Linked DNA regions of Homo sapiens: regions 1 and 3 are each linked to region 2. Evidence: promoter capture Hi-C in 16 types of primary human blood cells and fetal thymus (Javierre and others, 2016). All regions are on one chromosome and are shown on one strand. The core of a region is centred on a gene start or on the middle of the fragment in contact, and the rest is flanking DNA. Distances in the headings are between cores, read along the strand shown.

What was found. The method cuts DNA at HindIII sites, captures the fragments that hold promoters and counts their contacts. A CHiCAGO score of 5 or more calls a contact.
Region 1: a fragment that was not itself captured here is called in contact with the fragment with the promoter of ZNF684 in region 2 in 2 of 17 cell types (endothelial precursors and M2 macrophages); the score reaches 5.1 in endothelial precursors.
Region 3: a contact is called between a fragment that was not itself captured here and the fragment with the promoter of ZNF684 in region 2, in 1 of 17 cell types (megakaryocytes). The highest score is 5.0, in megakaryocytes.

What each region holds. Positions count from the first base shown.
Region 1 is chr1:40,667,725-40,671,746 of GRCh38, forward strand. It overlaps a transcript of RIMS3 not described here. Among named protein-coding and RNA genes, the nearest start is that of RIMS3, 4.1 kb to the left of the region's middle. RefSeq lists enhancers at 1,187-1,336, 1,397-1,446. The HindIII fragment of the contact is 588 bases long and covers 2,058-2,645 here.
Region 2 is chr1:40,529,097-40,532,928 of GRCh38, forward strand. It overlaps ZNF684 (zinc finger protein 684), which reads left to right and starts at 2,541. Exons shown (of 5, transcript NM_152373.4): 1 at 2,541-2,691. LOC124904149 (a long non-coding RNA gene) reads right to left here and starts at 2,450. Exons shown (of 2, transcript XR_007066022.1): 1 at 2,392-2,450; 2 at 1,482-2,259. RefSeq lists an enhancer at 2,341-2,635. The HindIII fragment of the contact is 2,309 bases long and covers 1,395-3,703 here.
Region 3 is chr1:40,765,641-40,769,580 of GRCh38, forward strand. It overlaps NFYC (nuclear transcription factor Y subunit gamma), which reads left to right. Exons shown (of 10, transcript NM_014223.5): 8 at 956-1,063; 9 at 3,716-3,775. Among named protein-coding and RNA genes, the nearest start is that of MIR30C1, 10 kb to the left of the region's middle. The HindIII fragment of the contact is 574 bases long and covers 1,450-2,023 here.

The DNA of each region.
Region 1 (4,022 bases), core at 1,102-3,601, 140 kb after region 2:
TCAATGTATTTAAAGCAGTATGGTATTGAAGCAGGACTAGACCGATCTGTGGAACAAAATGGAGTATGGAAATGGATCCAGCCCCACAAGGGAATTCAATGTATGATAAAGATAGCACTTCAGGCCCGGCACAGTGGCTCATGCCAGTAATCCCAAAACTTTGGGAGGTTGAGGCGGGCAGATCACTTGAGACTAGCCTGGGCAACATGGCAAAACTTTGTCTCTATAAAAAAATACAAAACTTGTGGCCGGGGGCGGTGGCTCACACCTGTAATCCCAGCACTTTGGGAGGCCGAGGCAGGCGGATCACAAGATCAAGAGATTGAGACCATCCTAGCCAACATGGTGAAACCCTGTCTCAACTAAAAATACAAAAATTAGCTGGGTGTGGTGGCATGCACCTGTAGTCCCAACTACTTGGGAGACTGAGGCAGGAGAATCGCTTGAACCCAGGAGGCGGAGGTTGCAGTGAACTGAGATCGCACCACTGCACTCCAGCCTGGTAACAGAGCAAGACTCTGTCTCAAAAAAAAAAAAAAAAAAAAAATTTATCTGGGCATGATTGCACACACCTGTAGTCCCAGCTACCAGGGAGGCTGAAGTGGGAGGATTACCTGAGCCTGGGAGGTCAAGGCTGCAGTGAGCTGTGATCACGCCACTGCACTCCAGCCTGGGCAACAGAGCAAGACCTTGTCTCTAAATGAATGAATGAATAAAAGACAGCACTTCAGACAAATGGGGGGCGGAGTTGGTAGGGGGTTGTGGGCGGGGGGGGGGGGGTTGGTGGCGGAGATCAAATGGGTGGAATAACCAGCAAGTCTTTTGGGGAAATTACAAAAAGCTGTGCCCTTATTCGACACTGAAATAAATTCCAGGTGGACCACATATTTAACACCATAATGTATCAGAAAAAAGACATGAGTGAATATTTTAATAATCTTGGAGATGGAAAAGACTTTCTAAGCATGATGAAACCTAGAAGCCATAAGAGAAAACATGGAAATGTTTGACTACAAGGCTTCTATACAGAAGAAATGGCCATAAGTCAGTTTGAAAGACAAATGACAAAACGGAGGGGATATATCCTGGTTGCCCCCTACCCTGTCCCCTCCTGCCCGCCAGCCCCTCCAAGCCGAGACGGGGACGAGCAGGAGGGATGGCTGGGGCTGTGAGAGTCGAGACCGAGCACCTGGCAGAGGCTTCTCCTGCGGCGCTCTGGCCAGCGCCCACATGTTTAGGGGCCGGGAAGTCCCGGAAACCCCAGGCGGGCCATCTGGGTCCTCAGCAGGTGCCTTGGCACAGCCGAGCCGAAGTCCTCCTGGAGGCTGCTCACCACTTCCCTCGCGTGGCCATCCTAAGAACTGCAATCCTCTGTTCCTGCTCAGCCCCTTCTGAGCATCAAGGCGAGAATTTAAAAATAAATAAATAACAGCTAATTTTTTGAGGGAACTAACCATGTTCCAGGCATTGTGTTAAACACTTAACCTAGCATATTTCATTTTCCCCTCAAAACAGCTCTTCGAGGTAGGTGCACTGTATTCTTATCTCCATTTGATGGACGGAAACTGAGGCTTGAAAAAAGTGACTTGTCTTTCTAAGTGGTGGCACCAGAATTTACTGCCACATTCCTGGCCTCAGCTCTTAATGTAATAAAGCCAAACCTTTGGGAAAATTCAATAAAACAAACTTTTTTGAGGTTTACCTTTATCCAGGCCTTTTGCAGGTGCTGGGGATTCTGAATTGAGGAAAATAGTCATCAGAGGTGACAGCAGAGGAACACTCCTGATACAGCGAATCCTGATGGCTACAGAGGACTCATTCACCCCAGGAAGCGGTGGGGGCAGTGGGGAGGGATCCCAGAGGAGACGTCCTCCAAGCTGCATCTTGTGGAGAGAGAGTAGTGGGGTGGCACTTACTAAGGTGGGCTGGATGACAAGTGGGGCTTGGGGGAGGAGCAGTGATCTATATGCTCTGAGTTTGGGGGTAGACCACAGATGGGGCTGAATAAAGTACACCAGGACCAAGCTAAGGAGTTTGGGTGCAAAGATTTTTTTGAAAGCTTTTCCATGTTTCAGTTGCTTGGGTCTAGGGACAGCCTGCTCTGCCAACCCAACCTGCCTCCTTTGCAGATGCTTTCTCACCCCAGTTCAAGGTGCTCTCAGAAACTTGGGAGTCCCTCCTGATTCCTTCCTCTTCCTCACTTCTATCCACTTAATTATCAGAGCCATCCAGTTTGCTTCCTAAATACTTCCTAGGTTCACCCACTTCTCTCCATCCCTCTTGCCTCTCCTCTAGTCCAGCCTGCCTTCCTGTCACTCCTGAATTCAGCTGCTGTTGGTGACTTGGTCTCACCACCTTCAAACTTTTACACAAGAGAAATCCTTCTAAAACAAATCTGACCACATCCCCTCTCTTACTGAAAATGCTTTTCATTGATTCATTCAACAAATATCAAGTATTTATTATATGTTGAATATTCAAGATATAATTATGAGCAAAACATGGAATTTAAAGCCTATGGGGGTGACAGACATGAACCAAATCACCCCCTAAATAATTGTATAATAAAAACTGGGTTAGATGCTATGGGAGGGACTGGCCTAGACAGGGAGATCTTTGAATGCTCCCCAAGGCATCCCATCTGAAGCTTGAATAGCAGTCAGCCAGATCAACAAGCCAAGGATGGGTAAGAGCTTACACAAAGGCCCTGAAGTTGCTTCTCTGAGTTTCTGTTTCCTTGTCTGTATAATGGGAATATTTAGAGTTATGAGGATTAAATGAGTTAATATGTGTAAAGTTCTTAGAACAGACCTTAGGATATAAATTTTCCATAAGTGTTAGTTATAATTTTATATATATATATATATATATATATATATATATATTTGAGATGGAGTCTCACTCTGTTACCCAGGAGGCAGTGGCGTGATCTCTGCTCACTGCAATCTCCGCCTCCCAGGTTGAAGCAATTCTTCTGCCTCAGCCTCCTGGGTAGCTGGGATTACAGGCATGTGCCACTACGCCTGGCTAATTTTTGTGTTTTTTGTAGAGATGGGGTTTCACCATATTGGCCAGGCTAGTCTTGAATCCTGATCCACCCACCTCAGCCTCCCAAAGTGCTGGGATTACAGGAGTGAGCCACTGCGCCTGGCCAATAACTTAATAATATATATTTTTTTAAGTGGAGAGATATTGGAAATCTTTCAGCAAAGGAGTTAAAGGAGAAAGTAGCATTTTTTAAATGTCACTCCAGCTGCAATGAGGAGCATGGATTAGTACAAAGAAAGAGCAGATTTGGGGAAACTAATGAGACTTTTGCAGGGGTCCATTGAGAGCTATGGGGATTTGGGCTAGGGAGGCAGAGGGAAATTGGAGAGATTTTGTGGTTTAGGTAGTAGACACTGCTGGACTTGCTGTTTTATTGGTAGTGGGAGGCTGTAGGAGGTAGGTGGTCCCTACAACTGGTTGGGTGGTGATGTTCTTCACCAAGACAGGGAAGCCTGAATGATGCCTAGGCCTTGGGGGGGATGCTGATTCTGGATGTGTTTAGATGCACACACTGTGGGACATCCCAGATGAGGGCTGCATAGGCAGCTGATTCACTGTGGAGTTCAGAAGAGAAACTGTGGCTGGAGATACAAAACTAAGATTGTTGGTGATATGGTTTGGATCTGTGTTCCCACCTAAATCTCATGTCAAATTTGTAATCCCCAGTGTTGGAGGTGGGGCCTGGTGGGAGATGATTATACTAGGGGTGGTTTCTCATGAATGGTTTAGCACCATCCCCTTGGTGCTCTTCTCATTATAGTGAGTGAGTTCTCATGAGATCCAGTTGTTTAAAAGTGTGTGGCACCACCCGACCACTCTGTCTTGCTCCTGCTCCTGCCATGTAAGACGCGCTGGCTCCCCCTTTGCCTTCAGCCATGATTGGAAGCTTCCTGAGGCTTCCCCAGAAGGCAAGCAGATGCTAGTATCATGCTTCCTGTACAGCCTGTGGAACTCTGAGCCAATTAAACCCCTTT
Region 2 (3,832 bases), core at 1,291-3,790:
ATGACTCAATGTTTGATGATGTTAAGGAAATATTGTTAATATTTTAGATGTGATAATAATATGGTTTTTTAAGTCTTTATTTTTATTGGTGAAATTATATGCTCTGGGATTTGCTTCAAAATACTATGCAATGGGGTTGGGGGTAGAGATGAAACAGAATTGGCCCTGAGTTGATAATTATTGGAGTTGGGGGATGGATACATGGAAGTTCACCACTATTCTTTCTACTATTGCATAGTTTAAAATTACCATAATGAAATGTTTTGTAAAATTAAATGCCTAATTTTTGGGTTGCACAAAATACATACTGTTTCTAATAAAAATACATAAGTAATTTGGTCCAAAATACTTTAGATATTAAGATGTAATGAATTTATTCTACTACCCATGTCTTTAATATATGTCCTTTCTGTTGAGAGAGAGGAGAGGAGAGGGGAGGGGAGGGGACGGGAGGGGAGGCAGAGAGAGAGAGATGTGTTTATTGCATAGAAAATGCTAGTAAAGTCAGTGGGTACTAATATCACTTGATCTTAGCCAAAAGGCTGAGAAGCGATAATGGCTACTAATATCAAGCCAGTTCTTAATGGTGCCAGGCAATAGTACTACATTTCCTTAATCTATTCACTTGCTCACATTCATAAATCATACTTTATCGAATCTCAGATGCCATTGATTATAAGTTGTATTATTATTTTATATACTAATAAAAAACAATGCTCCTGATTAAACTATGGAATGCCATCACTTGTAAGACAGCAATTTCACAGATGTTAAAATATGAAAAAATCATGTTTCAAAATCATCATAATACGGTATTCATCTTTTCTGTCAAGTCTAAAATACTTTCCCCCTATCTTCATTTCAGCTTCCTATTTCACTGGGAAAATAGAAGCACTCAGAACAGGGCATCCTCTTTCTCCTACCACCATATTTGTCCACCTGTTTGGATCTGTACTTATAAACTCTGCCTCCCCTTTTATTTCAATGGAGATGAATTATCCATACTCTTACTTAGAATGATCCCTGTGATTGTGTACTGGATTCCATCCCTTCTCTTCTCAAGGACATTCCTCCGAGTAACTAGCCTGTCTATCCTGAATTGTGTATTTCCCGCCTCTACTGGATCTTTTGTTTTATTTTATTAACTAATTCATTTATTTGAGACAGAGCCTCGCTCTGTCGCCCAGGCTGGAGTGCAGTGGTGTGATCTCGGCTCACTGCAACCTCTGCCTCCCGGGTTCAAGTGATTCTCCCGCCTCAGCCTCCCAGGTAGCTGGGTTTACAGGCGTCTGCCACCACGCCCGGCTAATTTTTGTATTTTTAGTAGAGACGGGGTTTCACCACGTTGGCCAGGCTGGTCTCCAACTCCTGACCTCAGGTGATCTGCCCACCTAAGCTTCCCAAAGTGCTGGGATTACAGGCGTGAGCCACTGCGCCCAGCCTAGATCCTTTTAATTAGTACATAAACTTACTATAATTTCTTCCATCTTTTTTATTTTATTTTTTTGAGACAGAGACTAGCTCTGTCGCCCATGCTGCAGTGCAGTGGCGGGATCACGGCTCACTGCAGTCTCTACTGTCTGGGCTCAAGCGATCCTCCCATCTCAGCCTCTCAAGTAGTTGGGACTTCAGGCGGGTGCCATGCCAGGCTAGTTTTTTATTTTTTGTAGAGATGAGGGTCTCACTATGTTGCCTAGGCAGTTTCAGACTCCTGGGCTCAACCAATCCTCCCACTTTGGCCTCCTGAAATGTTAGGATTACAGGCATAAGCCACCACACTCAGCCCCATCTTTGAATTAAAAAAAAAAAAAAAATTAGAACGTGGAAAAACGCAACAACAAAAGATTAACAAAATCCCTATCCCATGATAGCCTTATTTTTCTGCTCACCTTAAAAACAAAACTTCTTAAAAGTATTGCGTATATTTGCTTTCTCCATTTCCTCTCCTCCCATCCTTCCCTCCAACTCCTATCAAATTTTCATCAGACTTTATCAAACTTCCACCACTGCCAAAATGGCGTTTCAACATCACTGGTGACCATTGCTACAGTGGCCCATTCTTAATTCTCATTTTACTTGACCTATGAGCAACATTTGAGACAATGGGTCACTCCCTTCTTGAAACACTTCCTTCCCTTGGTTTTGCAGATCTAAACTCTCCTACTTTTCCATCTACTTCATGGATTATTCCTTCTCAGTCTTCTTTGTTGGATCCTCTTCACCTCTCCGACTTAACCTGGTGCATTGCTAGAAGAAACCCTGCTGAGTAAGAGCAAATTGTTTTTAGCATACCGCCGATTTTACTTTCCAGTATTTAAAAATGCTGTGTATCCTTTTAAATGAAAACGACTTAAAAAGCGTGGCTCTCAGGCTAGCAATAGAGATACCAACCCGGGAATCTCCGCACCACCCCCCAAGAGGAAGCAGCGTCTGACGTCTTCCGGAAACGAGCTCCACTGGCCTTATGGGAAATGTGGTCTCCGACGGATGGCCTACACCCGGGAGGAGTCCAGGAACTCTAGGTGGACAGTTACTTCCGCACACGCGTAGTAGGACGGTAGCCGGTATTCAATCTTCAAATCAGCGCCGCGGGAAGTGCGGGCGGGTGTTGCTCCCCTGTCTCTGGACGACGCTGTGACTGATCCCAGGCTTGGAGCCGGAGCTGCGAGCGAGGCAGTGAAAGGGTGGCAGGTATGGCTTTGCTGGACTCGGAGGACGTAAGAGAAAGGCGGGGACTGGCTTCTAGGTTTACCCTACCGAAGATAAAACTTTAGTCTCCAAGCGCAGTGACTTCAGGTTTGGATATGTGGGTCCTGTTCAACTCGAGTAGCTGAGAGAAAGCAAGAGTTGGGCTCCGACTGGCACTGGGTAGATGTCCAGGGCTCTGGTGGGACTGGGAGAGGCTCAATTTGCATTCCTGCTCTTGTAGGTCAAGGTCACTATGTAGGAGTCTGTTCATCTAACTGTACCTTTCCTGGTTCCAAGAGCATAGTTGGCCCGACTGGAGCCTGCGACAATTTTAAGCCGTGTCAAGGGATCCAGTGGAAACTGTAAGCTATTTCAAGGGATCCAGGAAGAAAGCATTCTTGAGAAACTGCTATGGATTAGAAGGGTATTCTCAGCAATCATTTGAAGTAAATGCTATTACCATTTTGCATATGAGTTAACTGAAGCTGAAAGGTGAAATTACTTGCCTGGACTCACACAGCTTAGTAAGTGGAAGAACTGAGATTCAAACTCAGATACATTTTCTCCAAATTTCTTTTTTTTTTTTTTTACAGTATAGCATTCCTGCATAAAACAGAGTTGGGTTTATTCTCCTGAAATGTTTGAGCAATGAATGCTGAGTAAATTTCGATTTGTAGTCATTTTGTAGAGTCTCTTGGTGTATCTGCAGATCTTCCAGTGCAGACTGTGTAAATGAAGATGTGAGTCCCCGGTTTGCCCATTATACCCTTTCTAGAGCCCCAGCAGTTCTAAGCTCATAGGAGATGGCGAGTTTCTACAGAGAGAAACATTTGGAGTTTAAACTGAAGGATCCAGCTTAACAAAAAAAAAATAAAAAAAAGTGTTCCTGGGTCCCTGAATCCAGCCTTCTCAAGAAAGCCCAACCTAATTTGCAATCTCTTATCCCAGCGTCAGAGTAGAAACCAGAGAATCACAGGAAGGAATCATTTTTAGACTTACGGAGCTTCAGAGACCAAGCTTTTAAGTGAGTCAACTCATTCATTATTTCTTCAGGATAAATTTCTGGGAGGAAAAAAAATAACTGTTTCAAGAGGAACCACTTGGTGCTAGATCAGTAGGACAGAAACATATAACATCCTTATCT
Region 3 (3,940 bases), core at 487-2,986, 240 kb after region 2:
CCTAGTCTATCCATGCTCCCAGAACCCCTTTCATTTCCTCTAAATTGAGGGTGTGAATGTCTGCAGTCCTCCTCTGCTGACCATCATCTTTGCTGAGCTACAGTTCTCTGATGTGGTAACCGCCTTGGTCCTCTTTTCATCCCCAGCTCAAAACACTAATACTTTCATGGTACACTGGAGCATTAAGAGCCTGAGTTAAGGCTTTTAGCACACAATTAAATGCAGCATGTGGTATTATTGTATTATCTGAGATTTAATCGTAAGCATGAGAGACTCTAAGGGCGCTTTCGTAGCTTTGGTTTCCCATGATGGGGTTTTCTATGAAAGGTTTATTGATTCTGCTTCCCCTTGGGAGGTGTTTGGCCAGAAGCTAGTGCTGAACACCAAAGATCCTAAAAGCCCCACAGACCCCCATCCAGCCTGGCTCTTGGGGACAGAGATGGTTAAGCAGTCCAGCTTTTGCCTCCAAAATGTGCAGCATGGGGCAGGGCAGTGTGAGGGCTATGATGCGGAATGATGGCTGTTTGCTTTGGGATCCTGGCAGATGCTGGATCTCTTTACAGATGGGAGCGAAAGAGGCCCACACTTAATGTACAGGCATTCTGATGATGTCAGTCAGATAAATTCCTAAGATAAGCTGTGATCATGTAGCTAAGAGCTGGCAAATAATGAGCATGCAGCCATGCTGTTCTCACCTTTGTGACAGGATCTTCTGGGAGTTTTTTCTGAAGTCCATTCAGGGAATATATTCTCTTCTGTGCTGTGTGACTTGTGGGATGTGGATGTTCTGATTTTGCTTGTTTTGACCTCTGTTTAAAAGGGACTTTTTTCAGGGCAGGCTTCTTTGGAGGGCTTGAGGGGTAGGGGGCAATCAACATCTCTGGTCATGGAAAGTTTGCCTGTTTGAGATTATACTCAATGTCTTATGGTCTCTTTGTCTCTGCCCCTGCCCTAGGTGCAGCTGAATGCCGGCCAGCTGCAGTATATCCGCTTAGCCCAGCCTGTATCAGGCACTCAAGTTGTGCAGGGACAGATCCAGACACTTGCCACCAATGCTCAACAGGTATGTGCCCCAGAGACACAAGGCCTGTGTTGGAGACCAGGAGCAGATGGCTTCTGACAGGAAAGGAGCGCTCAGCACACAGCTGTCTTGCCACCTCATCCTTCAACCAGAAGCACCACCCCCACACCCTCCATATCCTTCTGCACCCAAGAGGCATGGGTGGTAATTGGAACATTAGATTCAAAGTGTTTTCTCTTACCATCTTGTTCTCAAGGGGCAAAGAAATGCAAGTCAGGGGAAGCCTCGAAGGTGCCTGAAAGAAACCTTACAGGTGTGCACACCCATCAGACCTGGGAAATGTTCGACAGATCGCCTGATCGTCAGGCTGTTTCCATCTTTAAACCCAAGTGGCTGTTGTGTTCTGGCACCTCCTGTGCTCTTTGGAAAGCTTACTTAGATTTTACCCCTACCTCCTCTTGCATCCCTAACCAGAAAAATTGCCCTTCTCCTCTCCTCTCGTGCCCTACAATATTGATGGCTATGAGTCACAGATGGTGAGGGGGCTGCCTCCCTGGGCTTGGGGGTGTTGAGGGACATGGGTATTACTTGCAGAAGATGGGGGGTGCTGGTCAAGGGGAGGCATTGTTAATGGATTCTTTTGCCTCAGACCCAAAAAAAGCAGCGATCGTTTAAGAGCTGGACCCGTCTGGCCCAGTTGCATTTCTGGTGATGTATCTATTGACAGTGGTGACAGAGCTGAGTTTGTAGAGCAGGTCTCCAAAGATCTCATTTGGGAAAATACGAGGAATGAGCCAAAAGCAAGGCTTCTGAGTTCCATATAGTCTCTGGGATCATTAAGGGCTGTTTCTGTGCCCACTCCCCGGCTTACCTAAGGACGCGGCTTTTCCGTAGCTGATACTGACTCACACCCTTCCCCCAGCCCCTCTTTTTAACCTCATAAGATTCTTCCCTGGGATCCAAAAAACATAACGGCATGGGAGTGGGAGGAAATGAGAAGGAAGCTTCTTGGTTCCTCAGAAGTCAGTTTGGGGCTGGGCACAGTGGGTCACGCCTGTAATCCCAGCACTTTGGGAGGGAGGCTGAGGCAGGTGATCACATGAGGTCGGGAGTTTGAGACCAGCCTGGCCAACATGGCAAAACCGTTTCCACTAAAAATACAAAATTAGCTGGGCGTGGTGGTGCATGCCTGTCATCCCAGCTACTTGGGAGGCTGAGACACAAGAATCACTTGAACCCAGGAGGTGGAGGTTGCAGTGAGCTGAGATTGTGCCACTGCACTCCAGCCTGGGCGACAGAGTGAGACTCTGTCTCAAAAAATAAAAATTAAAAAAAGTCCGTTTTGGGAACAGAACTAAAGCCAAAAAATGGGAGAGGCTGGGGAGAAGCAAGAAAGTGGTAGCTGAAGGCAATGAAAATCTTTGTAACAACAGGTTGTAATTATGACAACCTAATACTTAGTAGGTGCTCAGTAAATGTTTGTTGAATGAAGCTGAATGAATAATATGTAAATAAAATGTAAAGGTAAATGAAATCTCAGCTAATATGAATGGCAATCCTGCTGGCCACAGAGCAGTTAACCTTCTTATCTATGTGGAATATTTTCCATTTGTCTCAGGCTCACTTGTTTATTCTGCAACATTTCTGGAATACTAACTTTGTATGGGCTCCTGCCCTCAGGCATCTTATAGGCTGTTGGAAGGAAAAGGACCAAAATAAGGAACAATAGTAAAAAATAGTCATGAAGCCTGTCATACCTGTTCCCTTTCTTGTTCCTCATAGCCTCATGGGTAGGCCTGCAGGGGTTGTTTTTGGCCATGGTGAGGACATTTGAGAGGACAGTCCTTGTCTTGCAGGCTGGCTGTGATGATTCCAGGAAATGGTACACAGAGGACACTGCTGGCCAAATGTTCCATAGGAACACATGTGCATGCACACCGCAGTCTTCTTTCTAGTTTACCGAGCTGCTCCCAGCAGTTGTCATTATATATGCAGTTCTACATGTCAGTACATTTATCTAAAATCCATTCACAGTCCACACATAAGATTTTAAGTACTTGTGATAAATGTTGTCTTTGTTCCACTCCCGGTCCCTCCCCTTTTCTCCTCCCCTCCTTTGGCCCAGAGGGCTGCACAGTGCCTCTCTCGGAAAAAGTACTTCATAGGTTTGCCATGAGGACTGCTGGGACCAAGGCCACTTGCTCGCCAGGGTGTTTCATATTCCAGTCAGATGATCTGGGTGATACGGGTTTGGTTTGGAGCCCACCTTCCAAGAATGAAAGAGGCCACTTACCACTTTGTCTGACACTTTGCAGTCCGCCTTCACTGGCTGAAAGACTGACTCTTAGGACTTCTACCCCAAACCATAGCACCTAGGGTCCATGTGTTCTGTTTGAGCCTCAGAGTTTGAGATGAGTGGGTGGTTGAGGGAGTAGGCATTCATTAGAGAGATGGGTGTGGGAACTATCTATTATGTGCTCCAGGATTCTCGATGTCACTTTGTGCTGCCAACTCTTGACGTAGCCATCAGTGCTAGATTAGGAGGGGTGCTTGCTTGCTTACTACCCATTGAGCACCTGCTGGGCACTTTATATGCATTGTCTCATTTGATCTTTATGACCCTCTTTTGGGTGGTGGGCTGGTGGATCAGACCCTGCAGCTGACATACCAACTCTACCATCTTGATTCTTACAGATTACACAGACAGAGGTCCAGCAAGGACAGCAGCAGTTCAGCCAGTTCACAGATGGACAGGTAGGGTACCCAACCTGGGCTGGGCAGAGGGTGAGGATTTGCGGGGCAGGGTAGCAGGTAGTATCTGGGTTTGGATGGTTAGGGCAACTGTCCTGTCCTCTACTAACAGTGAGTGGACAGAAATTGTTAAAACAAGTACGGTATTTAAATCAGGGCACCTATCCT